Regions from separate parts of the Homo sapiens genome. Here regions 2, 3, 4, 5 and 6 are each linked to region 1. The links are contacts of gene promoters, found by promoter capture Hi-C in blood cells and fetal thymus (Javierre and others, 2016). All regions are on one chromosome and are shown on one strand. Each heading gives the region's core, a stretch centred on a gene start or on the middle of the fragment in contact. The rest is flanking DNA. Distances are from core to core; before and after follow the strand shown.

The links. The method cuts DNA at HindIII sites, captures the fragments that hold promoters and counts their contacts. A CHiCAGO score of 5 or more calls a contact.
Region 2: a fragment that was not itself captured here is called in contact with the fragment with the promoter of MRPL50 in region 1 in 1 of 17 cell types (fetal thymus); the score reaches 9.1 in fetal thymus.
Region 3: a fragment that was not itself captured here is called in contact with the fragment with the promoter of MRPL50 in region 1 in 1 of 17 cell types (total CD8 T cells); the score reaches 10.2 in total CD8 T cells.
Region 4: a contact is called between a fragment that was not itself captured here and the fragment with the promoter of MRPL50 in region 1, in 1 of 17 cell types (naive CD8 T cells). The highest score is 6.2, in naive CD8 T cells.
Region 5: a contact is called between the fragment with the promoter of ANKS6 here and the fragment with the promoter of MRPL50 in region 1, in 1 of 17 cell types (fetal thymus). The highest score is 6.2, in fetal thymus.
Region 6: a fragment that was not itself captured here is called in contact with the fragment with the promoter of MRPL50 in region 1 in 1 of 17 cell types (total B cells); the score reaches 5.7 in total B cells.

Annotation. Positions count from the first base shown.
Region 1 is chr9:101,396,559-101,400,187 of GRCh38, reverse strand. It overlaps MRPL50 (mitochondrial ribosomal protein L50), which reads left to right and starts at 1,570. Exons shown (of 2, transcript NM_019051.3): 1 at 1,570-1,687. The coding sequence starts at 1,596. It overlaps ZNF189 (zinc finger protein 189), which reads right to left and starts at 1,337. Exons shown (of 3, transcript NM_003452.4): 1 at 999-1,337; 2 at 178-304. The coding sequence starts at 1,031. RefSeq lists enhancers at 1,337-1,866, 1,399-1,927, 1,928-2,457. The HindIII fragment of the contact is 1,128 bases long and covers 568-1,695 here.
Region 2 is chr9:99,234,424-99,238,125 of GRCh38, reverse strand. It overlaps LOC124902230 (a long non-coding RNA gene), which reads right to left and starts at 160. Exons shown (of 2, transcript XR_007061690.1): 1 at 17-160. The HindIII fragment of the contact is 4,242 bases long and covers 1-3,702 here.
Region 3 is chr9:99,215,293-99,218,841 of GRCh38, reverse strand. ALG2 (ALG2 alpha-1,3/1,6-mannosyltransferase) reads left to right here. Exons shown (of 2, transcript NM_033087.4): 2 at 6-2,417. The coding sequence ends at 908. Among named protein-coding and RNA genes, the nearest start is that of ALG2, 4.9 kb to the left of the region's middle. The HindIII fragment of the contact is 480 bases long and covers 1,961-2,440 here.
Region 4 is chr9:104,115,280-104,119,207 of GRCh38, reverse strand. SMC2 (structural maintenance of chromosomes 2) reads right to left here. Exons shown (of 25, transcript NM_006444.3): 14 at 2,889-3,008; 15 at 833-1,037. Among named protein-coding and RNA genes, the nearest start is that of SMC2, 23 kb to the right of the region's middle. The HindIII fragment of the contact is 8,542 bases long and covers 1-3,928 here.
Region 5 is chr9:98,794,848-98,798,587 of GRCh38, reverse strand. It overlaps ANKS6 (ankyrin repeat and sterile alpha motif domain containing 6), which reads left to right and starts at 2,033. Exons shown (of 15, transcript NM_173551.5): 1 at 2,033-2,455. The coding sequence starts at 2,097. LOC124902229 (a long non-coding RNA gene) reads left to right here. Exons shown (of 2, transcript XR_007061689.1): 2 at 1-140. RefSeq lists enhancers at 1,769-2,269, 2,270-2,770 and a silencer at 1,891-2,510. The HindIII fragment of the contact is 11,591 bases long and covers 1,405-3,740 here.
Region 6 is chr9:99,121,089-99,124,967 of GRCh38, reverse strand. The region is part of intron 1 of TGFBR1 (transforming growth factor beta receptor 1); the gene reads right to left. Among named protein-coding and RNA genes, the nearest start is that of TGFBR1, 18 kb to the right of the region's middle. The HindIII fragment of the contact is 1,393 bases long and covers 1,667-3,059 here.

The DNA of each region.
Region 1 (3,629 bases), core at 321-2,820:
TTGGTCACCTCAAGGAAGCTAGGGATGAGAGTTATGGAAACAATTAATGGCTAAAAGGTTTGAATCAGAACTTTGGAACAAAGCAGTTTTGGTACTGGTTTCCGTCCAAATGTTCTGTTAGTCTGATTTCTCTCTACCTTCTTAGATATTTTAATTAGAGAAACAGCAGATTCTTACCCAGTGAGACCAGGTTTCCATAATTCTCCATCATGACATCTTTATACAGGCTTCTCTGAGCTGGGTCCAGATAATCCCACTCCTCCTGGGTAAAAAACACAGCCACATCCTCAAATGTCAGCAACCCCTGAAATAGTATGATTTCTGTAGTCAGTTCCTGTTGTCTCAAGGACAATTCTACCACTAAAAGTGACAGAGGCAATCACTTATTGTGGCCAAGTAGGCTAGGAGGAACATGATAACTGAAAGTTCCATATGTTGCCCAATTCTGGGAACGAACTGTAACTGACAGACATCTCAGACTAGAAAGGACCTACGGATAAGGCTTTTCTGATTTATTATGCCCTGAGAGTTTAATTTTAGTAAACTGCCCCAAGGCCTCTCCAAGCTTCCCTCACCTCATTGCCTACTTCAATTTTCCATTTGCACTGGCTTGTGACTCTATTCAATTCAATTCCTTGAGGTTCTCTAAGCGTGTACCTTGGGGTCCAGGCACTGTGCCAGGAACAGAAGACACAAGGGAAGGTCAAAAATGGTGCTTCACCTGGAGAACTCACAAATGAGAGAGCTAGTCTGGAGCATTACTTATTTTCTCAGGCCGATTTATCAAGTCTCTCTAGAAAAAGAAAAAAAAAAAGGGAGCCAGTGGGCAGTTTGTTCGCGAACCGCACCCCAATGCACTAGTGGGGAGTTCCTTGCAAGGCGCTGGCCCTAAAGAGGCGGTCAGGAGGTTGGTGGGGGGCCTGGGGGAGAAAGCAGTGGTGCGGCCTAGCTGGGGTAGCGGCGAGACAACCGGGATCCCCGGGGGGGTGCTTACTTACCTTCGACTCCGGCGGGGGGCTCGGGGAAGCCATCTCCCAGGCAGAGAATAGGGGCAGGAATTGGGGGCGGCCTCACGGAAAGGAGCCTCTGGTGAGGCCTACCCGGCTGCTGGAAATTAGGCTCGACGAATACGAGGATCCCTGGCTGGGTCTGGCCAGTGCCTGCCTCGGCCCCCAGACGGTCACGACCCCAACAGCATATCAGACGCGATCCCTGGCTGTCCCCCAACCCCGAACCCCAACCCCTACTCCTGCCTGGTTACGCAGCCTTTCAGGCCTCGCTAGAGCCTCCTCCCCGCTGCCAGTTCCTCCTCCTTGCAGCCAAGTAACGCTATGACCGCCCGCCCCCGGACCAGAAGGCGTCACCCAGATTCTTCCCGAGGCCCCCTCAACTACAACTCCCGTCATGCTCGGAAAGAGCGCCGCGGTCCAGACGCCGCCAGCAACAGCTACTGGACTACATTTCCCAGCGTGCAAAGGGCGAGGGAGCCTACAGGAAAAAGAAAGCTCTTGCCACTGGGATTGTATCCGATTGGCTGGTCTGGGCGCGTCACTGCTGGCTGAAGGCTGCGCTCAGGCCCGTGGATCTCATCGAAGATGGCGGCGCGATCTGTGTCGGGCATTACCAGAAGAGTCTTCATGTGGACAGTCTCAGGGACACCATGTAGAGAATTTTGGTCTCGATTCAGGTAAAGCTTTATGGTGGACGGTGGGTCATGTTCAAGGAAAGTTAAGGAGGATTAGGGACGAATTCAAAATAGAGTGTTACGCCATCGTGGTCCCGCGCCTGATCAGAGCAAGGACAAGGAGGTCCGGTTAGGGTCCCGAGTTGAGAAGCACTCATTGAGTGGTGGGACCCAGTCTCTTCCACTCTCGGCCTTAGTTTTCTCATTTTATAACGGAAATACCACCCCCTTTCCTTTTCACTTCACTCATTCATTTATTTATTAAGCAAGCAGGATTAACCTCGTGTGCGAGACACCGAGTGTGTTGTCTGCAAACACATGAAAGCGCTTGGTAAACTAAACTCATTTGCCGGCTGTGTTTCTTCACAAGCAAGGTTCAGTAATGAAGTACTGCCTCCTCCTTTTGTTTGTTCATTCATTCAGTCATTCAACAGATTTCTTAGGGCCAGCATTACTCTAAGCGCCTAGGATACAGCAGGAAAAACAAAATCCATTCTCATCCTCGAGGTACTCCAACATATGAGGAAACAGGCCCACAGGAGGGAAGTGATTTTCCCAAAGTCACAAAGCAAGTTAATTGCAAAGCTGGATCTAGAACATATGTCTCCTAACTCCCCATCTACTGCTTTTTCTGCTGCACGGCTGCACCATGTGTAATTGTTTGAAGGTAAATCTAATTTGACTTAGATAGTGTTTAGGAAATCAAAACGTATGGTAGGAACCCTAGGGAGCAATGTATGCTCTCTTAGGTTTAAAACAAAAACCACTACAATTAGGAAAGATCTTTTTCATCAGTTCAGATATTAGCTTTCCCTCTTCTTTGGTCAATATTTGTTATTATCTCTCAAATCTCTTCCAAGTTTGTTTTATTCATTCACTCAACAAATATTTTTTAGGCTGTTTACTATATGCCAGGCTATATCTTAGGTGTTGTAAGAATACAGTGGTTACTAAAACAGACCAAATTTTTGTTCTCGTAGGGCATATGTTCTAATGGAGGAAGAAATGAACAAATGTGTAATGTAATTTCAGAAAGTGGTAAATTATGAAGAAAACTAGAGGAAATAGATTACTGAGAATGATGATTATATTTTCTTTACTATTTTAAAAATTTTATATATTTAAGATATACAACTTGATGTTGATTATTAGTCAAGATAATTATCATATTCATCTCTTCACATACTTTCTGTTTTGTTTTGTTTTAGAGAAAGGAGTTCTCACTATGTTGCACAGGCTGGTCTTGAACTCCTGGACTCAAGTAATTTTCCCACCTTGGCCTCCCAAATTGCTGGGATTCCAGGGGTGAGCCACCACACCTGGCCAGTTAGAATTTTTGTGTGTGTGGTGAAAACACTTAAGATTTACTCTCAGAAGATTTCAAGTATACAGTACAGTATTATTAATGATCGTCACCATGGTGTACATTAGATCTCTGGAACTTATTCATTCTACATAATTTAAATTTTACCTTTGTCCAACGTCTCTTCATTTCCGCCACCCCTGGTAGCCACCATCCTACTCTCTGTTTCTATGAATTTGACTTTTTTTTTGTTTGTGTTGGAGATGGAGTCTCACTCTGTCTCCAGGCTGGAGTGCAGTGGCGCTATCTTGGCTCACTGCAACCTCCGCCTCCCAGGTTCAAGCGATTCTCCTGCCTCAGCCTCCCGAGTAGCTGGGACTACAGGTGCCCGCCACCACGCCCGGCTAATTTTTTTATTTTTAGTAGAGACAGGGTTTCTCCATGTTGGCCAGAATGGTCTCGATCTCTTGACCTCATGATCCACCTACCTCAGCCTCCCAAAGTGCTGGGATTACAGGCGTGAGCCACTAAACCCGGCCTAATTTGACTTTTTAGATACTACATATAAGTGAGATCATGTGGTATTACTCTGTCTGGCTTATTTCTCTTAGCATAATATTTTCCAGGTTCATCCATGTGTTA
Region 2 (3,702 bases), core at 598-3,097, 2.2 Mb after region 1:
AGTTTAATGAACTTACAGTTCTGAATGGCTGGGGAGGCCTCACAATCATGGCGGAAGGCAAGGAGGAATAAGTCACGTCTTACATGGATGGCAGCAGGCAAAGAGAGCTTGTTCAGGGAAACTCCTGTTTTTAAAACCATCAGATTTCATGAGACTCATTCACTATCATGAGAACAGTGCAGGAAAGACCTGCCCCCATAATTCAATCACCTCCCACTGGGTTCCTCCCATGACACACAGGAATTGTGGGAGTTACAATTCAAGATAAAATTTGGGTGGGGACACAGCCAAACCATATCAGGACACAACAGAATCACCAGAGGAAAAAGACATGGGTGGAATGGAGAAATCCATGCACAGTCTTCCTATATTCTCTCCCTTCTGTAAGGAACACTGCAAGCAAGTTCCTTTCTCTAGCAACAATCAATGCAATAATGTTTCTGCCAGGAAGCCTGTTAGAGACTCAGCACCCAAGGTTTTTTTGTTGGTGGCTGGCCACATGGGCCTCTTCTGCCTGGCAACTACCAAAATTCCAGACTCTCAGAGGAATTACCTTCCTCAGAAGGAAAGCTGGTGTACTGGATAAACCACATTGTCAATCAGCCCAATCAGCCTTATCAGTTAGGGAATGATTCAAATGCCAAGTTTTCAGACACCAGCCAAGGTCCAACCTTGCAAACAGAACATTCTAGAAATAGCAGGGTCTGGCTGGCTATGATAACTCTTTTCAGCACAATGACCAAGTGGAGTTCATTTCAGGAATGAAAGAATACACATAAGTGATCACTAGAATCTGGCTCCCTAAGCTGCTATGTGTAACAGCAAATCCCAGCTGGCTGTGCCTTCACTGGTCCAAGTTCTATACATGGTGATGTGAATGCCATCAGCTCTGCTAAGCAAACTGGTCACTACCAGATTCCCTGCTAAAAATTTACCATCAGCCAAGGTCTTCTTGGCTTCTCAAATCAGAACACTGGATTTTTCTCAGTTCACCTGGAGATGAACAACTAAAGATGACTAGATCCAGACCAATCTAAACAGAAACAACGCTTGCCTCATGCATAAAGAGGCCGACTTTTTATTTACAATGGAGGATATATCCTTCTAGTGAGCCAAAATGCTTGTGTTTCAAATGTGGGGTACCACCTTTCTCAAGAGTAAGATATCTGGAAAGCATAATCAGTCATCAGAAAATTGCTTTAAGCCAGGCATGGTGGTTCACACCTCTAATCCCAGAACTTTGGGAGGCCAAGGCAGGGGGATCACTTGAGGCCAGGAATTTGAGATCCTACCTCTACAAAAAACAAAAAAAAGTTAGCCAGGCATGGTGTTCATGCCTGTAGCCCCACCTACTCAGGAGGCTGAGGCAGGAGGATTGCTTGAGCTCAGGCAGCATGTCTTCTGATATAGCTTGGATATCTATATAGTATCCCTGCCCAAATCTCATACTGAAATGCAATCCCCAATGTTGGAGGTGGAACCTGGTGAGAGGTGATTAGAGTATGGGGGTGGTTTCTCACAATGCTATAAAGAAATACCTGAGACTGGCTAATTTGTAAAAAAAAAAAAAAAAAAACAAACAAACAAAAAAACAGTTTAATTCACTCACAGTTCCACGGCTGTACAGGAAGCATGGCCGGAGAGGCCTCAGGAAACTTAGAATCATGGCAGAAGGCAAAGGGGAAGCAGGTACTTCTTACATGGCCCGAGCAGAAGGAAGAGAGAGGCAGGGAGGTGCCATACACTTTTAAACAACCAGATCTCACAATAATTTACTACCACAAGAACACCAAAGGGGAAATCTGCCCCCAGGATCTAATCACCTCCCACCAGGCCCCACTTCCAACACTGGGGGTTACAATTTGACATGAGATTTGGGCAGGGACACAGACCCAAACCATATCACACAGTCTCAGGTATTTCTTTATAGCAGTGCGAGAACAGCCTAATACATCCTCTATAAAAAGAGGCACTGCTATGCAAAAAAGAACAGAATGAAGGGCTCTGTGGTTTCTCAGGGCCTTCCAGCTCTACAGCTGTGACTGTGCATCCCAGCAGGTGCTAGCACACACACGAAAAGGCGTACTTCCCCAGACACAGTGCAGACAACGCAAAACAAATAGTACCCTGGTTACAACTTCAAAGAAGAGAAAGGGGGACAAATTTAACACACCTGTTTGGGTGATGGGCCTAGAATAAAGTATATGCCCAGTGACCCTGGCCCCACATTGTGATTTCTGCTTTGGGCTCCTGCTTTAGGGAGTGGAGACTCCCAGTTGAGTGATCTCAAAATCTGCTATGTAGCAGCTGCAGATTCCTTCCAGGTGCCCCTGATGCATGTTAAAGTTTGGGAACCACTCATCTAAGCAGCAAGTTGCTCTATATTCTACAACCCAGACCAATTTAGATAGATCCCTAGAAGAATGAGCATGTTTTCTTACTGGCAACTGTATTATTGAGTAGAACAGGAAAGACAATAGAGCACGCAACTACGTGATTCATTATCTACGATGCGTGTGACCAGAGTCAATGGGAAGAAAAATGAGTATGCATGTTTGCAGGACTAATTTAATCTTTATATATGTAATTCAAATTCTTCCCCTCATGTCTTCATTTGCTTTCTGAGGCATAAACTTCTAGACCTTTCCTTAAAATGGAGCAATCCAGACTTTGTATGACTATACCTTTGATTCCAATTTGGTGCATTTGCATGTTTTATCTTATTTTAATGCCTTCAGCATGGGAAAGAGACCCAGTTGTCAGAGTGACCAGGAATAGCATTTCAACAGTTTAGCCCTTCTCAAACCTTAACCCTACTTGGTCAATTTCACTGTGTTCCAGGCTCACCTAACATTTGTGGTCACAAAAATGCAAAACACTGCAGTTCTGCTAGCTGCTTCTCCCTATTTTGTCTCTATAAAGTCTCATGAACTTGACTTTCTCCTAAAGTTGCTAACATAATTGATTTTATTTTTACTAGCTAGTCTTGCTGTCTTCACTCCTTCCCCTTTGATTAACAATGCCCACTATTCAAAGCCTACCACTTAGTTTACCTACTTCCAGAGCCTACCCTCTAGAGACGTCAACAGGCTTATGCACAGGCTCAAAATTGGGTTCATAGTGCAGTACTGGGAAGAAGCCCTGATCTGGAAACAGAAAAGACTGGTTCTGGCCTCTGTTCTGCTGCAAACCTGCTGCACAATCTCAGGCAAGTCCCTTCCCCTCTCTGGGCCTGTCTCCTCTGTCATACAATGGAGAAAACCCAGTGAACTCGCAGCCCTTCCAGCTAGGGCATCTCAGGATTCTCTGCTTTTCCTCTGTTGGACAAGCGATCACACAGTATGGATTTCCTGGGGACAGTGCCAGTTTTGCAATCCCTGGCACCACAGCCCATACACCATGAGCATACTAGTTCTTAAACTGTGGTCCTGACTATTTGATTTCACCAATGGCAAGGGGGTTTGAGAGGGCTTCCTACTGGTTTTTCCATAATCACATAGCCATTTCTAATTTGTAGCCCCAGATAGGAATAGGATCCTAGTATACAAATGCCCAGTCCATTTAAGCTAATGACCTTGCCAGGTCATTTCTAAAACCCCAATAAAAGGGCATGGCACACAGTGCCCAGTAAATGTCTGCTGATGCCTAAACACTATGCTTTCTCTATAACTGCAAGAGCTCCATAGAATGAACAAAGCTCAG
Region 3 (3,549 bases), core at 951-3,450, 2.2 Mb after region 1:
GCTAGGTGTCTGCCTGTATCCCAGTGTTCAGGCTGGCTAGACGGCGGAAGAAGATCCTATTTTACTGTCACTTCCCAGATCTGCTTCTCACCAAGAGAGATTCTTTTCTTAAACGACTATACAGGGCCCCAATTGACTGGATAGAGGAATACACCACAGGCATGGCAGACTGCATCTTAGTCAACAGCCAGTTCACAGCTGCTGTTTTTAAGGAAACATTCAAGTCCCTGTCTCACATAGACCCTGATGTCCTCTATCCATCTCTAAATGTCACCAGCTTTGACTCAGTTGTTCCTGAAAAGCTGGATGACCTAGTCCCCAAGGGGAAAAAATTCCTGCTGCTCTCCATCAACAGATACGAAAGGAAGAAAAATCTGACTTTGGCACTGGAAGCCCTAGTACAGCTGCGTGGAAGATTGACATCCCAAGATTGGGAGAGGGTTCATCTGATCGTGGCAGGTGGTTATGACGAGAGAGTCCTGGAGAATGTGGAACATTATCAGGAATTGAAGAAAATGGTCCAACAGTCCGACCTTGGCCAGTATGTGACCTTCTTGAGGTCTTTCTCAGACAAACAGAAAATCTCCCTCCTCCACAGCTGCACGTGTGTGCTTTACACACCAAGCAATGAGCACTTTGGCATTGTCCCTCTGGAAGCCATGTACATGCAGTGCCCAGTCATTGCTGTTAATTCGGGTGGACCCTTGGAGTCCATTGACCACAGTGTCACAGGGTTTCTGTGTGAGCCTGACCCGGTGCACTTCTCAGAAGCAATAGAAAAGTTCATCCGTGAACCTTCCTTAAAAGCCACCATGGGCCTGGCTGGAAGAGCCAGAGTGAAGGAAAAATTTTCCCCTGAAGCATTTACAGAACAGCTCTACCGATATGTTACCAAACTGCTGGTATAATCAGATTGTTTTTAAGATCTCCATTAATGTCATTTTTATGGATTGTAGACCCAGTTTTGAAACCAAAAAAGAAACCTAGAATCTAATGCAGAAGAGATCTTTTAAAAAATAAACTTGAGTCTTGAATGTGAGCCACTTTCCTATATACCACACCTCCCTGTCCACTTTTCAGAAAAACCATGTCTTTTATGCTATAATCATTCCAAATTTTGCCAGTGTTAAGTTACAAATGTGGTGTCATTCCATGTTCAGCAGAGTATTTTAATTATATTTTCTCGGGATTATTGCTCTTCTGTCTATAAATTTTGAATGATACTGTGCCTTAATTGGTTTTCATAGTTTAAGTGTGTATCATTATCAAAGTTGATTAATTTGGCTTCATAGTATAATGAGAGCAGGGCTATTGTAGTTCCCAGATTCAATCCACCGAAGTGTTCACTGTCATCTGTTAGGGAATTTTTGTTTGTCCTGTCTTTGCCTGGATCCATAGCGAGAGTGCTCTGTATTTTTTTTAAGATAATTTGTATTTTTGCACACTGAGATATAATAAAAGGTGTTTATCATAAAAAAGAAACAGTATTAGATTTTGGTCTCCATAATCTATTTTGGTATTGTTACGAACATGGATATGACAACCAAACTGGAAATCAGAACACTAGGGTAAAGTGGATATTGAAATGAAGCAAGAATATTGTCACACATGTGTTGTGCATCTTGTTTAGGGTATATTTCTTAATGTCATCTAGGTCATTAGTTTTGTTAATATTTGTGTTGTCTTGACCAAGCTCCTACTAAGTATAGGACACAAATGTTTTTTATCTTCCAAGGCCTGGCTCAAATGCCACTGCTGCAAAGCTTTCTTTGACCCTCTGGCCACCTCCCAAGCCAGAAGTTATCTTCCCCCTCCATGTACTCTAGCCTTTTCATGACACTGATATTTTCGTGACACTGACTTATAGTTCACTGTTTACCTGTTGGTCTAACAGCAAATCATAAACAGTAGTTTTCAACATACTTCTAAGGCTAAATTCATTTCCAGAAGTAGCAAAGCTTACTAGCCAAAGGCTCCACATTTATCAACTCTTAAGAGCTAGACTTGAGAGCCTAACAGCCTATATGATTTTGTGTAAATTGATCTCTATACCTCAGCTTCTTCATCTGCAAAGTGAGATAATTGTACTATTCTACTTTCCTCATAGTGCGGTTATAACAGATTATGATAATATTACAAAGTACTTAATACTTGGCATATAGTATATATATTAGCTATTAGTATTTTGCAATTTGGGGATATTGAAAATTAGAAATTGCATGTTAGTTCATGCTGCACTACCATATTGTTCTTTTGGGGCTCTTCAATGGGTGAAATTCCATTTTACAGTTTATCATGTGCATCTGTATCACAGGAGTATTTTGGCAAAATGATTCTGTACCAAAAAGGAGTACTATAAAATGAGGGTGCCAAATATATTGAGTCTTTTATGGGATTAAAAGTTCTGTTGCATTCCATTTTCTTTGGCATTGTGAAAGCTTACCATGTAGTACAGAAGGTATGATTTGGTTCATGTGTTTCTGAGAAATGCAGCCTTTCCAGGAAGCCTGGTGGCTCTTACCATGGAGTTTAGCACAGATAGACTTGGCCACACTGTGACCTACAACATGGTGCTTACCTTACTAAGCAGCACTAAACATTTGCATATTTGACCATTTTTATGCAAATCCTTTCAAATGGACTACATGGGTTCATGGACCCTGATTTTAGCTTCACTTCATTGTCCTAAGCCGGAGTGAGTGACAATAAGATTTCACAGGTCTGGGAGGGATGGAGTCCTGCCTGCCATGAGCTTCCAGCTTCTGACCATTAGTTCCTGGTTCCTGGACCCTAGAATGGAACTTTGCCCTTAAGAAGTGTTCACACCTTCCAAAACTAAGCTGAAGTTAGGGAAAGTAGAAGCATGAAACATTGAAGGTGAATTGTTGGGGCCTTATCCATAGTAATTCTGGTAATTACTTTGTGCAGGGCAGGAAAGGAGATACATACATAGCAGATGCTTAATCCTCAACAATTCACTGAGATGTAGGTATTCTTCCCTTTTAGATGAATGTAGTTAAGCAAGTTGCCTGCGTCCCATGGCCTTGAAGAATGGACAGAATCTCAAGGCCCTCTGATTCCAAAGTCCAACCACTTTACTATTCTTCAGTCTGCCCTCACCCTAACCAAATTCTTTGTGTAATGTTTTTTCAGTACAACTCCCTCTGCAGCACTGCAGTTGTAGTTGTACAGGTCTTTGGGTTTAGAAAGACTTTGCTGTTTACTGTCCATTTGCCTCTTCCCATCAGTCTTCCGAGGTGAGTATGATTATCCCCCATCTTACACACAAGCTCAGAGAGGTGAAAGACTTGCCTGAAGGCACACAATTGAAAAGTAACTGAGCCAGCATTTGGCCCTTAGTTACCTGAGCCATCCGGGACTTTGCGCATACCAGAATTTCTCAGTCTCCTCCTCTTTGATATGCGTAAATATCATTTGTCCTTCATACATACACACATAAAAACACGATGGGCCAATAGAAGAGGGAGTATCATGTCCATAAAGAGACCCACTCAGCTAAGGGGGAGTAGTAGTGCAGTTCTTTGATCC
Region 4 (3,928 bases), core at 1,074-3,573, 2.7 Mb before region 1:
TTCCATTTGCAGATACTAGTCATTTGATTGTGTACTGGAGAATCTGATACCTAGTCATGGAATTCACTGAACCGGCTAATGTTTTCGTGGCCGAGAGCAACATTAAGTCACTTGATACCTCAAGTGGCTTTATGCCGTCTACTGGGTTAAAAACACAAACTATGAAATCAGACTGCTGGGATTCAGATTCTAAGCTCTGCCACCCTGTAGTGCGTTATTTAAGCACTCTGTATCTTCATTTCTGCAACTGTATATTAGAGATCATAATAATATGCCTACCTCATCGTTGTTATTAAGAACTAATTCTTATTTAAAGCCCATAGAATAGGGCTTTATAGAATGATAGACATGTTCTATATCTGCATTGTCGAATTATCCATTAACCATTTGTGATTATGGGCTCTTGAAATGTGACTAATGCAACCAAGGAAATTACTTTTAACTTAATTAAATGTAAAAAGTCACATATGGCTAGTGGCTACTGTATTGGACAGCATAGTGTAGAACACTGTCTGGTATACAGTAAATATTATTCAGTGTTTGTTATTCTATTGTCTTGACAAAGATCTGCAAACTCAGTGTGGCAAATACTAGACCAAGAAGAATATGATCACTGTCTAAGAATTCCTTTAAGGCATTAAGGTACCATTTCAAGGGCAGGTTTAATTTTTTGTTTTACTTTTGACAGGAGGTAGGTGGCACTGGCAAACACACAAATGAGAAGTTAACATGTTTCCTGAAGAAGTGGGTAGTTGGGCTAAAAATGTACTTAAAAAAGGCATCTTCCTATTTACCACAAAGAATTGTGAGGAGAAAAGGATATAAAACTTACCTCCACTCAATGTCCCATGAGGATCAAACACATCACCTCCGAGAGTTACAGTTCTAGTCATTATCCTCTTATCAAAGGCCACTTTTTTGGCATTATCCATATTGTCACAAACAAATGTTGTTCCAAAGACAAACTCCATTGCTTTCTGAAGTTCTGGTTTATATTCAACCAAGGAAAGAGCCACATGAACGTTGTCAGGGCCAACCTGTGGGACAACAACAGATATGCCACAGTACATACTACTACTTTTCCTTTCAGATATGATTTTATAAACCAGTAAAAACTGCTGTAATAGAAACTTAAATAATACTTACCTAGCATTAAAACTCTTTCTGAATTTTCTAAAAAGCTATGTAAAACTCAAAGTTTCAGGAAAAAAAAACTGCAGGTTTAAATACTGAAAGATTTATTGCTAAGTAAAATATTTATTAATAGCTAGTATGGAGCATTATGAAAGTTTCTATCAATAAGGAGCCATTACCATGTTTCTAAGTGTCCTTCACCAACGTTGACTGGACACAACTTTAATTATAGTACAGATTGAGTATCCTTTATCCTAAATGCTTAGAACAGAAGTGTTTGTTTTCAGATTTTGGTATATTTGTATTACAGTGGTTGAACTTTCTAAATCCAAAATACTCCAATGAGCATTTTTTGGGTGTCATAGTTTTGAATTTTGGAAAATTTCAGTTGTTGGACTTGGAGTGCTTAACCTATAATTTCCAGATCAACACAACTATATGAAAATGTTGTTTCAATAATCAGGAATTTGATTTCACAACAAATATTTTCTCATACAAATGAAACATGCTAGAGCAGTCGTCTGCCAGTTACAGAAATGAAAACACAATAACTGAGAGTAAAAGTAATTTAAAAAATCCCCAGTCCTCTATTTTGATCACAATGCTTCTTCTCAGCCTTTGTTTATAGAGGCTACCTCTGCCCATCATTTAAGAAAAACTAAGCATCTCTTTTAGAGCTTAGTATCAGCAGTGGCAGTCACAATGAAGGAAGCTCTATGTAACACATGTTCAGTATTGTTCTTTGATGTGGCAGCTACCATCAAATAGGTTTGGCTAAAGGATTTGAGGCAAAGTATTTTTGCTGTTACTTGAAATCCCAATTTCCTTCTAATGCTGGGACTCGATGTATGGCTGAATTAACTTCCTGAGCCTTCTTGACTTAATGGTGAGTTTTCAAGTAAAGAAAGTACCAACCAAAAACATCACCTTTCAATTACTCAGCACTCATCCTCCCTCTCCTGATAGTATACATATCAACACAACTGTATTTTGAAATCATTTGCATTGAAATCTTCTGAATGTAACTAAGGATACAACAACATCCACTTAGTTACAAGTATATTTTTAAGTTTCATAGAAATGTCTTTTCAACTGATGTACTTGGAATGTCTGATCAATAAAAAAACTGATATTACAGCTGAATGTTATGACTGACTTCATGTTTTTACAGTATTACACAACTACAATAACTTTTAAATGTATTTCCTTGTACTAATCTATTTTCTTACTAGCAAGCATGTCACTTTAGATCAACGTCAGCAGTTGAATGGGATCCTGGTCACCTGCTATGTACCTGCACAGGCTGAATAGCAATCTAGAAGAACTCTAATAAAGAAGCATCACTGCAATACTAATGAAGGCCTTCCATAATGGCTGTGACTGTGGGCAGTTTTAGTATGCCTGACATAAAAAGAAACAAAAACAAAAACTTGAAGAATTTGGGGTACGTATCTAGAAGCTCAGTTCTAACCATTCAGGAATCAAGAGTGTAATTTTCACCATCACCTGATTGATAGTCATGTGACTTAAGGTTAAAAAGGACATTCTAATACCACAAAGTGAAGCATCAAAAGGAGTTCAAGTCTTCCAACATCTCTATTCTCTTATCATCTAATTGCACAAGCCAACCCAATTTTTTTGTATTTTAATTTTGTGGTTCTGCATATGATTATGTCCCTCAAAATTAATGTCTTCTAACTTAAAAAAACCACAGATGACGATTAAACATATAAATAAGACAAAATGAGACTTACAAGATTCTGAGCAACTCTCAGAGTTTCTGGTGCAATACATCTGGCTGAAATTTTATTGAGTGGAATTATAGTGTATCGACGTTTCAGTTCCCCCCTTTCTAGTAGCTTTTTACCAGTAACCTACAACACACATTTGAATTTAAAAAACGCATGTTAAAAATGACAGAAAATTGAGAGAATGCAAGTTTAGTAGTCTATAATAAATGAATGTTTAGTGCCATTTATCCCAATCAAGTTATAATTACATATGCAATGGAACATCATTTGAACTTGAAAAAGGAGATGCTGCCATTTGGGACAACATGAATAAACCCAGAGGACATGATGCTAAGTGACATAATCAGACGAAGAAAAAATAAAAAACTGTATGACCTCACTTGTACATGGAATCTTTTAAAAAAAAAAGCTGAACAAATAAAAAGAGTAGGATAGTGGTTATCAGGGATGAGGAGTGAAAGAAAATGGGTAGAAGTAGGTCATAGGTCAAAGGGTACATATTTGCAGTTGGGTAGGATAAATAAATCTACCTATTCAGAGATGTAATGTATAGCATGAGGACTATAATTAATACTATATACTGAAAATTTGCTAAGAGTAAATTTTAGGTGCTGTCACACACAAAAAAGGTAACTATGGAAGGTGAATGGCTATGTTAATATGTCTGACTACAATAATCATTTCACTATGTATATGTATCAAAACATCTTGTACGTTTGTTTTTTTCTTTTTTTTTTTGAGATACAGTCTTCCTCTGTTGCCCAGGCAGGAGCGCAGTGGTGCAATCTCAGCTTACCGCAGCTTACCGCAACCTCCACTTCCCAAGTTCAAGCAATTCTTGTGCCTCAGCCTCCAGAGTCGCTAGGACTCCAGGCGCACGCCACTACGCCTGGGTAACTTTTGTATTTTCAGTAGAGATGGGGTTTTGCCACGTTGCTGAGGCTGGTCTCGAGCTCCTGGGCTCAAATGATCTGCCCACCTCAGCCTCCCAAAGTGCTGGGATTACAGGTGTGAGCCACCATACCCAGGCTTCTTGTACATTT
Region 5 (3,740 bases), core at 784-3,283, 2.6 Mb after region 1:
GCCTTTTCTGCATCTATTGAGATGATTATATGGTTTTTGTTTTTGATTCTGTTTATATGGTGAATCACATGTATTGATTTGCGCATGTTGAGCCAACCTTGCATTCCAGAAATAAAGCCTACTTGATCATGGTGAATTGACTTTTTGATGTGCTGCTGGATTCTGTTTGTAGTATGTCATTGAGGATTTTTGCAGCTATGTTTTTCAGGAATATTGGCCTGAAGTTTTCTTTTTTTCGTTGTGTCTCTGCAAAGGGCATGAACAGACACTTCTCAAAAGAAGACATACAGGCAGCCAACAAACATATGAAACAAATGCGCAACATCATTAATCATCAGAGAAATGCAAATCAAAACCACAATGAGATATCATCTACACCAGTCAGAATGTCAATTATTAAAAAGTCAAAAAACAATAGGTGCTGCTAAGGCTGTGGAGAAAATACACTGTTGGTGGGAATGCAAACTAGTTCAGCCACCGTGGAAAGCAGTTTGGAGATTTCTCAAAGAACTTAAAATAGAACTATTTGACCCAGCAAACCTACTACCAGGTATATACCCAAAGGAAAATAATTCATTCTATCAAAAAGACACCTGTATATTCATTGCAGTGCCATTTACAATAGCAAGGGTATGGAATCAACCTAAGTGCCCATCAACAGTAGATTGGATAAAGAACATGTGGTACAGAGCCAGATGTGATGGCTCACACCTGTAATCCTGGCACTTTGGGAGGCCACAGCAGGTGAATCACTTGAGCTCAGGACTTTGAGACCAGCCGGACAACATGGTAAAACCCTTTCTCAACCAAAAATACAAAAAATTAGCCGGGTGTGGTGGCACTTGCCTGCAGTCCTAGCTACTCGGTAGGCTGAGGTGGGAGGATTGCTTGAGCCTGGGAGGCAGAGGTTGTGGTGAGTAGAGATTGCACCATTGCACTCCAGCCTGGATGACAGAGCAAGACCCTGTCAAAAGAGAGAGAGAGAGAGAGAGAGAGAGGGAGAAAGGGAGGGAGGGAGGGAGGAAGGAAGGGGGATAGGGAGGGAGGGAGGGAAGAGAGGGAAGGAATGAAAGAAATGTGGTGCATATACACGATAGAATATGATGGAATACTACGGAATACTATGCAGCCATAAGAATGAACGAAATCATGCCCTTTGCAGCAACATGGATAAAGCTGGAGGCCATTATCCTAAGCGACCTAAAAAGAACAGAAAACCAAATACTGCATGTTCTCACTTATAAGTGGGAGCTAAACATTGAGTACACATGGACACAAAGATGGGAACAACAAACGCTGGGGATCGCTAGGCCAGGGAGGGATGGAGGGGACTCTGGGCTGAAGAACCTCTTGGTGGGTATTATGCTTACTGCCTGGGTGACGGGATCGTTGGGACCACAAGCTTCAGCGTCGCGCAATTTACCCATGTAACAATTTACCCATGTAACAAACCTGTACCCTTTAATCTATAATAATAGTTGAAATAAAAGGTGGGGGAGAGAGAGAGAACAGGAGGCGCTTTTAGCCCCAGCAGCCTGGCCCAGATGAAGGAGCGACATTAAGGGCACCGCAGGACACTGTGAGGAAACAATCCGTTCGTTCCTTAATTCAGCCGCTTCCTTATTCTAGAAGGGCAGGTTCAGTGCCAGGGGCTGCGGTGGGGTCAGCGGAGCCCGCTAGTAAAGTCAAGGCCCACGCAGCTGCGGACTCAGACCCGGGCCCAGGGCCCTGACCACAGCGTGAAGAGGGGATGGCGTGGCCGCTCCCACCTCTGCCCTGACAGGAAGTTTCTGGAGCCCCGGGACAGGGCGGCGAGAGGGCGCCGAAGAGGCAAAAGGGAACACGCGGGTCTGCGGCGGGCGCTCCTCTGAGCGTCCCTGGACTCCCGAATACGGGCACTGGAGGTGCGCAGCCCCGGCCCTAGCGCGCTCCCGGCACACAGCAGGCGCGCGGCCCTAGCCCCGGCGCGCTCCCGGCACACAGTAGGCGCGCGGCGCGGGCGGGTGGCCGGAAGGGGGCGCCTGCGGGCGGTATCCGGGGGCGGAGCCGACGCGGCCGGCGGGGCGGACGGGAGCGGGCCGCGCGTGGCGGCGGCGATGGGCGAGGGCGGGCTGCCCCCGGCCTTCCAGCTGCTGCTGCGCGCGTGTGACCAGGGCGACACGGAGACGGCGCGGCGGCTGCTGGAGCCGGGGGCGGCGGAGCCAGCCGAGCGCGGCGCGGAGCCGGAGGCGGGCGCGGAGCCGGCGGGGGCCGAGGTGGCCGGGCCCGGGGCCGCAGCGGCGGGGGCAGTCGGGGCTCCGGTGCCCGTGGATTGCTCGGACGAGGCGGGCAACACCGCACTGCAGTTCGCCGCGGCCGGGGGCCACGAACCGCTGGTGCGCTTCCTGCTGCGCCGCGGTGCCTCGGTCAACAGCCGCAACCACTACGGCTGGAGCGCGCTCATGCAGGCGGCCAGGTGAGGCGGCGGGGCCCGGGGGCCCGGGACCAGAGTGGTGCCCGGCGCTGGCCCGAGACGCGGTCCCCGGCGGCCGGATGCCCCGGGAGGTGAAGAGTTAAGGACTCCTTAGAGTTGGAATGGTAAACTTTGAGTAGTCTTTTGTAAACTTTGAGCATAGACGTGGAAACACTTTTGAATTAACATAAAATCAGATTCTTAGAAATTTTGGCCTTTCAGAATAGAATCTGGAGACAGCGAATAGAATTGTAGAGACTTAGAACCTTAGAGATTTAATTCATTTCTTATTGCAGTAAGAGTTTCCTCAGAACCTGCCTTCCCTTCCTGGCTTGGCGTTGAGGGTGCTGCGAGACCCAGGCAGAGTCCCCACCCAGGGCATTGGTGGGCAGGCCAGGCAAAGGAACGAGCTTGACCGGAAAGGTTTGAGTAGCTGTGGGGCAGGTGACCCATTTTGGAGACGTGGGGGAAGGTTTCTGGTAGAAAAGATGTTTATATCCACGTGGAGACCTGCGGATACCTGAGAATTAGCCAGGACATTACAAGTGGGCTGTGGGAAGGCATGATGGGAGGCCCATGCAAAGGCTTGGGTGCACGAGCTGGTAGGACTGGTAGAATGAGGTATGCGTAGAATGTATGAGTAGAATGATGTACTAGTCCTCCCTGGAGAGAAGGCAGATGCCAGGGAGTTGGGGGAGTGTGGGAGCTGAGAAACGCTAGCTATCCTAGGGTGCTAGGGAGTCATGGAAGGTGCTAGGGAGTCATGGAAGGTTCTAGGCAGAATGAGTGACAGGATGAGAGTTACGTTTTGGAAAAATTACTTTCCTTGAAGTGTGAGAATAGATTAGATACTCTAGGGTAAGCTAGAGTCAAAAAGGCTGGTTAGGTAGAGTTTGCTGCAGTCTGAGTGAGAGGTGATGGTGGCCTAGACCAGAATGGAGACAGCGGAGGGAGGGCACCCAGATGAATTTGTGATATATTCAGGGAGTAGATCAGCAGGAGTTGACGACTGGCCCTTGGGGAGGGGTTAAGAGAGACAGCAAGGATGGCATCTAGAGATCTGGCTTCTGTGAAGCCTGCCATGATATCTCCCTGTTCTCTGGTCCCTCCGCAGCAGAAAGGCCTCTGTGGTAGCATCCATCACACCATGTTAATGCTGACTGGCTTCCTCAGTACCCAAACCTGGCCACACATCAGAATCACCAGGATGCTTGTCTAAGTGCAGATTCCTGAGTTCCTTTTCTGGAGATTGTGATTTAGAAGGCCCAGGGCAGTGAGGGGAGTAAGA
Region 6 (3,879 bases), core at 1,114-3,613, 2.3 Mb after region 1:
TGAGCCAAGAACATAAGGGTTTTATATCTAGTTTCATGTCTACAGAATTTAAGTAACATTATGAAAAATACACTCTGTACTTCTCCTTTCAAAGAGGTCATTACATTACGGTAAATTTGAAAAAGTCAGTACTAAAGGGTTTTTCTTAACTACTCTTTCAATCAGAAGAGGTCACTAGACAAATAAAAACATCAAGATAACACAAAGCTTAACTAGGTAAAGATTTCTCTCTTCAGGGAATTAAAAAATTCCATTTCACCACTTGAAGTCAGTCTTGATTGACTACAAGACTGCTGTTATGTGATACGGCAAGATCGTTTAGGGAAAAACTAAAATAAGAACTTAATTTTTTCCATGAACATGAGTTTTAATTGCCATTTTTTTAAAAAATTCAAATTTATTTTATTAATAGATAGATTTGGCCCCTGGATACTGCCCCCCCCAACCTTTTATTCAACTAGGTTTTAAATTTTTAAACGCATATACATGGCAAAATTTCAATCTAAAAAACGTAAACGAAGACACCTCCTTCCGCCAGCCCAAAGCCCAAGTTCTCCTCACTCTGCAACACATCACCTTGACTCTTTCATTTAATTCTGCAATTATTCACTAAGCATCTCTATATGCCAGGTACAGTGTGGGCTATGAGGTGCAGAGATGAGTAAGACAAGGTATTTGCACTTGAGTAGTTCACTAGGGTGGAAGGGAAAGGCATTAAACAGATAATTAAAATCCTGAGTCCTGAGAAGAATGATCAAAGTGTTTCTACTCTGCTGCGGTAGAAGAGATTATCAAGAAAAGCTTCACCAGCATTCAAGTCAGAACTTGGAGAATATGTACAATTTGTTAGATAGATAAGGGTGAGAAAGCTTTCCTGACTGGGTTTTCTTTCTCAGTGGCAGGATTTCATCCTTAGTGGCTGGCATACCAAGTAAGATGATCAAATTTAAATTGTTCAAGATGCTAACTACGATGTTTTATTTCATCAGGAAAATAAACATAATACCTCTCTGACCTATTTCATCATCTGAGCTAATCAAATGAGATACTGTACTTTATTAACACATTTGGAAACGAACATAAATGATTATATAAACACACAGAATTATCCCATATGATAAATGGCATTGTGCCAATGTGGTTTTTATTCGTAGGCCACCAAAGGTAAACTTCTTCCCAAAAGTAGTGACAAAATTCCACTGTAGAATCCCAGACTAACAGAACCACATGAAACTTTGAATATCATCTAGGCAATTCAGTTCTGTCATTTTATTAATGTAGAAACCAAAACTTAAGAAAAGCAAAACAATTTTAAAAATTTTAAAAAGAAAACCAAAAAACCAAAATGATTTATACAAATATTCTACCCAGATTACAGGCGGATGTGAATCCTCACTATATTATCACCAGCCCACGAGTGAAACCTACGCAACTATTTGCTATACCACTATCCCCATGCTAAGTAACCCTGAACTTTAAAGACTCCCAGGTGGACCTGATTTGGTTTAGACTCCTACAGTTTTGACTCTTCTGCTTGATAGCAAAAATAAGAACCAAATCCCCTGTTTAGGACCTTTCTACTACACTGTCCAACTTTGTTTCCATGCCCCAGTCTTTAACAGTGGGCATAGCTTTCTTAATCTTGAGATGCACATTTCTCTAAGCTTTACATTTCTAAAATCTGAATACAATTTACAATCAAAGTAAAAAGAAAACTCCAGCCTCCAGACTGAAAGGTTAAGACATGATGGGTTGTTGTAACCTATGTATGTGCAAACTTGGCTATACATAGAAAAGATTACAAGTTGAGTATCCCTCATGCAAAATGCTCAGGACCAGAAGTGTTTTGGATTTGGGATTTTTTTCAGATTTTGGAATATTTGCATATACATAATGAGACATCTTGGGAATGGGACCCAAGTCTAAGTATAAAATTCATTCATGTTTCATATATGCTTTATATATATAGTCTGAAGGTAATTTAATATAATATTTGAAATAATTTTGAGCATGAAACAAAGGTCATGTTAAGTACTTATGTGCAGAATTTTCCACTTGTGGCATCATGTTGGTGTGCTCAAAAGGTTTTGAATTTCAGATTGGGATGTTTGACTTGTATTCACTTCACCATCACTGTAATTATTTGTCTTGATAGCTCCCTTGCAACTATAACTTAGGTTAAACAAGGATTTCAGTGTGATTCAGCACTAAAAGGAAAAGCTACTGTGTACACAGAAAATTATATCAGAACCATGCCAGGAAATACAATTACTAGCAGTGAAATTTCCAAATATTGCAGAATAAATCAGAATTTTCAAAGTTTGCAGATGTTAGCATGGTGACAGTTAGTACCAAAGGAAGTGACATGAGGAAAAAGAGACAACAGGACCCTTGGGGTTATTATTCATGGTATTATAGTATCGGGGTAACAACTCTCGGGGTAACATATCCCAAGTTGAGATCTTGGCTCTTGGTCCCAATATAAAGGATTTCCTTGGTTGCCTCATTTCAGTACGTCTCGAGGTCACATATGGAAGCACTATTAATTCTATCTAATGCCAGGGCTACCCAGGGTTAATTCACAAGCCCATATGTCTTGCTAGAAAAGCTGAGAGGTAAACAGTTGTGTATAGTATTAATATATGGAACAGATATTTCTATCACCCTTGTTAAAGAAATAAAAATTAGCACCGAAACCTTGTCTTCCCAGGCTTAGTGTGTCATCATCTACACAACCTACCCGTAGTCTTTTTATGCATACGCTTGAATACTCTTTCCTTTTTCAACCCTTGTTACTGGCCCTCTCCAGCCTTCTATCACCCATCTTCCTCCAGTTCAGAGCTCAACTGAAATCTCTCTTTGAAATTCACTAGCAATGCCCTTCTGGTCAAATTCAATATTCTTTTCAAAACGTTTCAGGATATGAGACAGAGTACCACCCTTTCTTTATTAGTTTTTATATGACACTAAACTTCCCAAACTTACTTTGCACTTGGCCCTTTGGTACATCTCAGATGTACATCTCCAAGCCTCTTGGCCTTTTACCTGTGCTCCAAGCTTGTATTTTAACTACATCCAGGAAACACTCTGCTTGGCTTACTTATCTATGCAAAGTCAAGCAGAGTGTTGTAATCCAGTTTTTTCATCACTCTGACTTTGCTGGTGATGACCCTTATTTTCCTCACCCTACCCACTACAGCACAACTATACTTTTCTTCGCAGTGAGAGTATTTCCAAATATTACAAACATGTACCAACAGGCAAGTAAAAGACCTAACATGCACAATGTCCTTTATGCAGTTTGCTTCACTACAGCTGAAAGCAGATCACATCACTGCTGGCAAAGGTGAAGGCAAAAGTTGGAAGTTATTTAAAAAAAACTTTCAGGGACTAATGTCAGCCCCTTTTATCATCCAACCTATTCTTCTACCCCAGTTCTTCTGAGTAATCTGCCTTACCCCTTTTCTCCATTCTCAACACATGCCCCCTTCTCAAGGAGACGTGTCCTCTTTTCTCCCTCATCCAGCTTTGGAGTAAAGCATACTATATAGATTCTCCTTTTCTTTTTATTAAATATGTTGCTTATCTCTGTATACATGGCTAAAACCCTGACCTCCAATTCCCTCCAGCCTACTATCCTAGGTTTTGTTCCTCAAAATACTCAGTTCTTCTCAATTCAACCCTCCTGGGGCTACCTTGCAGCAGTAATATCAAAGTAAGCTTGTCAAAATAGAGAACACCATATAATGTACATAAAATTTTCCTCTAGTCCAGATAATATTTCACCCCTGAATTTAGGGCATCAGAATAAACGCCTGATTTTTTTCCAGATAAATTCCATTTACTTCTGCCACTTTTAAAGAATTTAAGATGCATTGT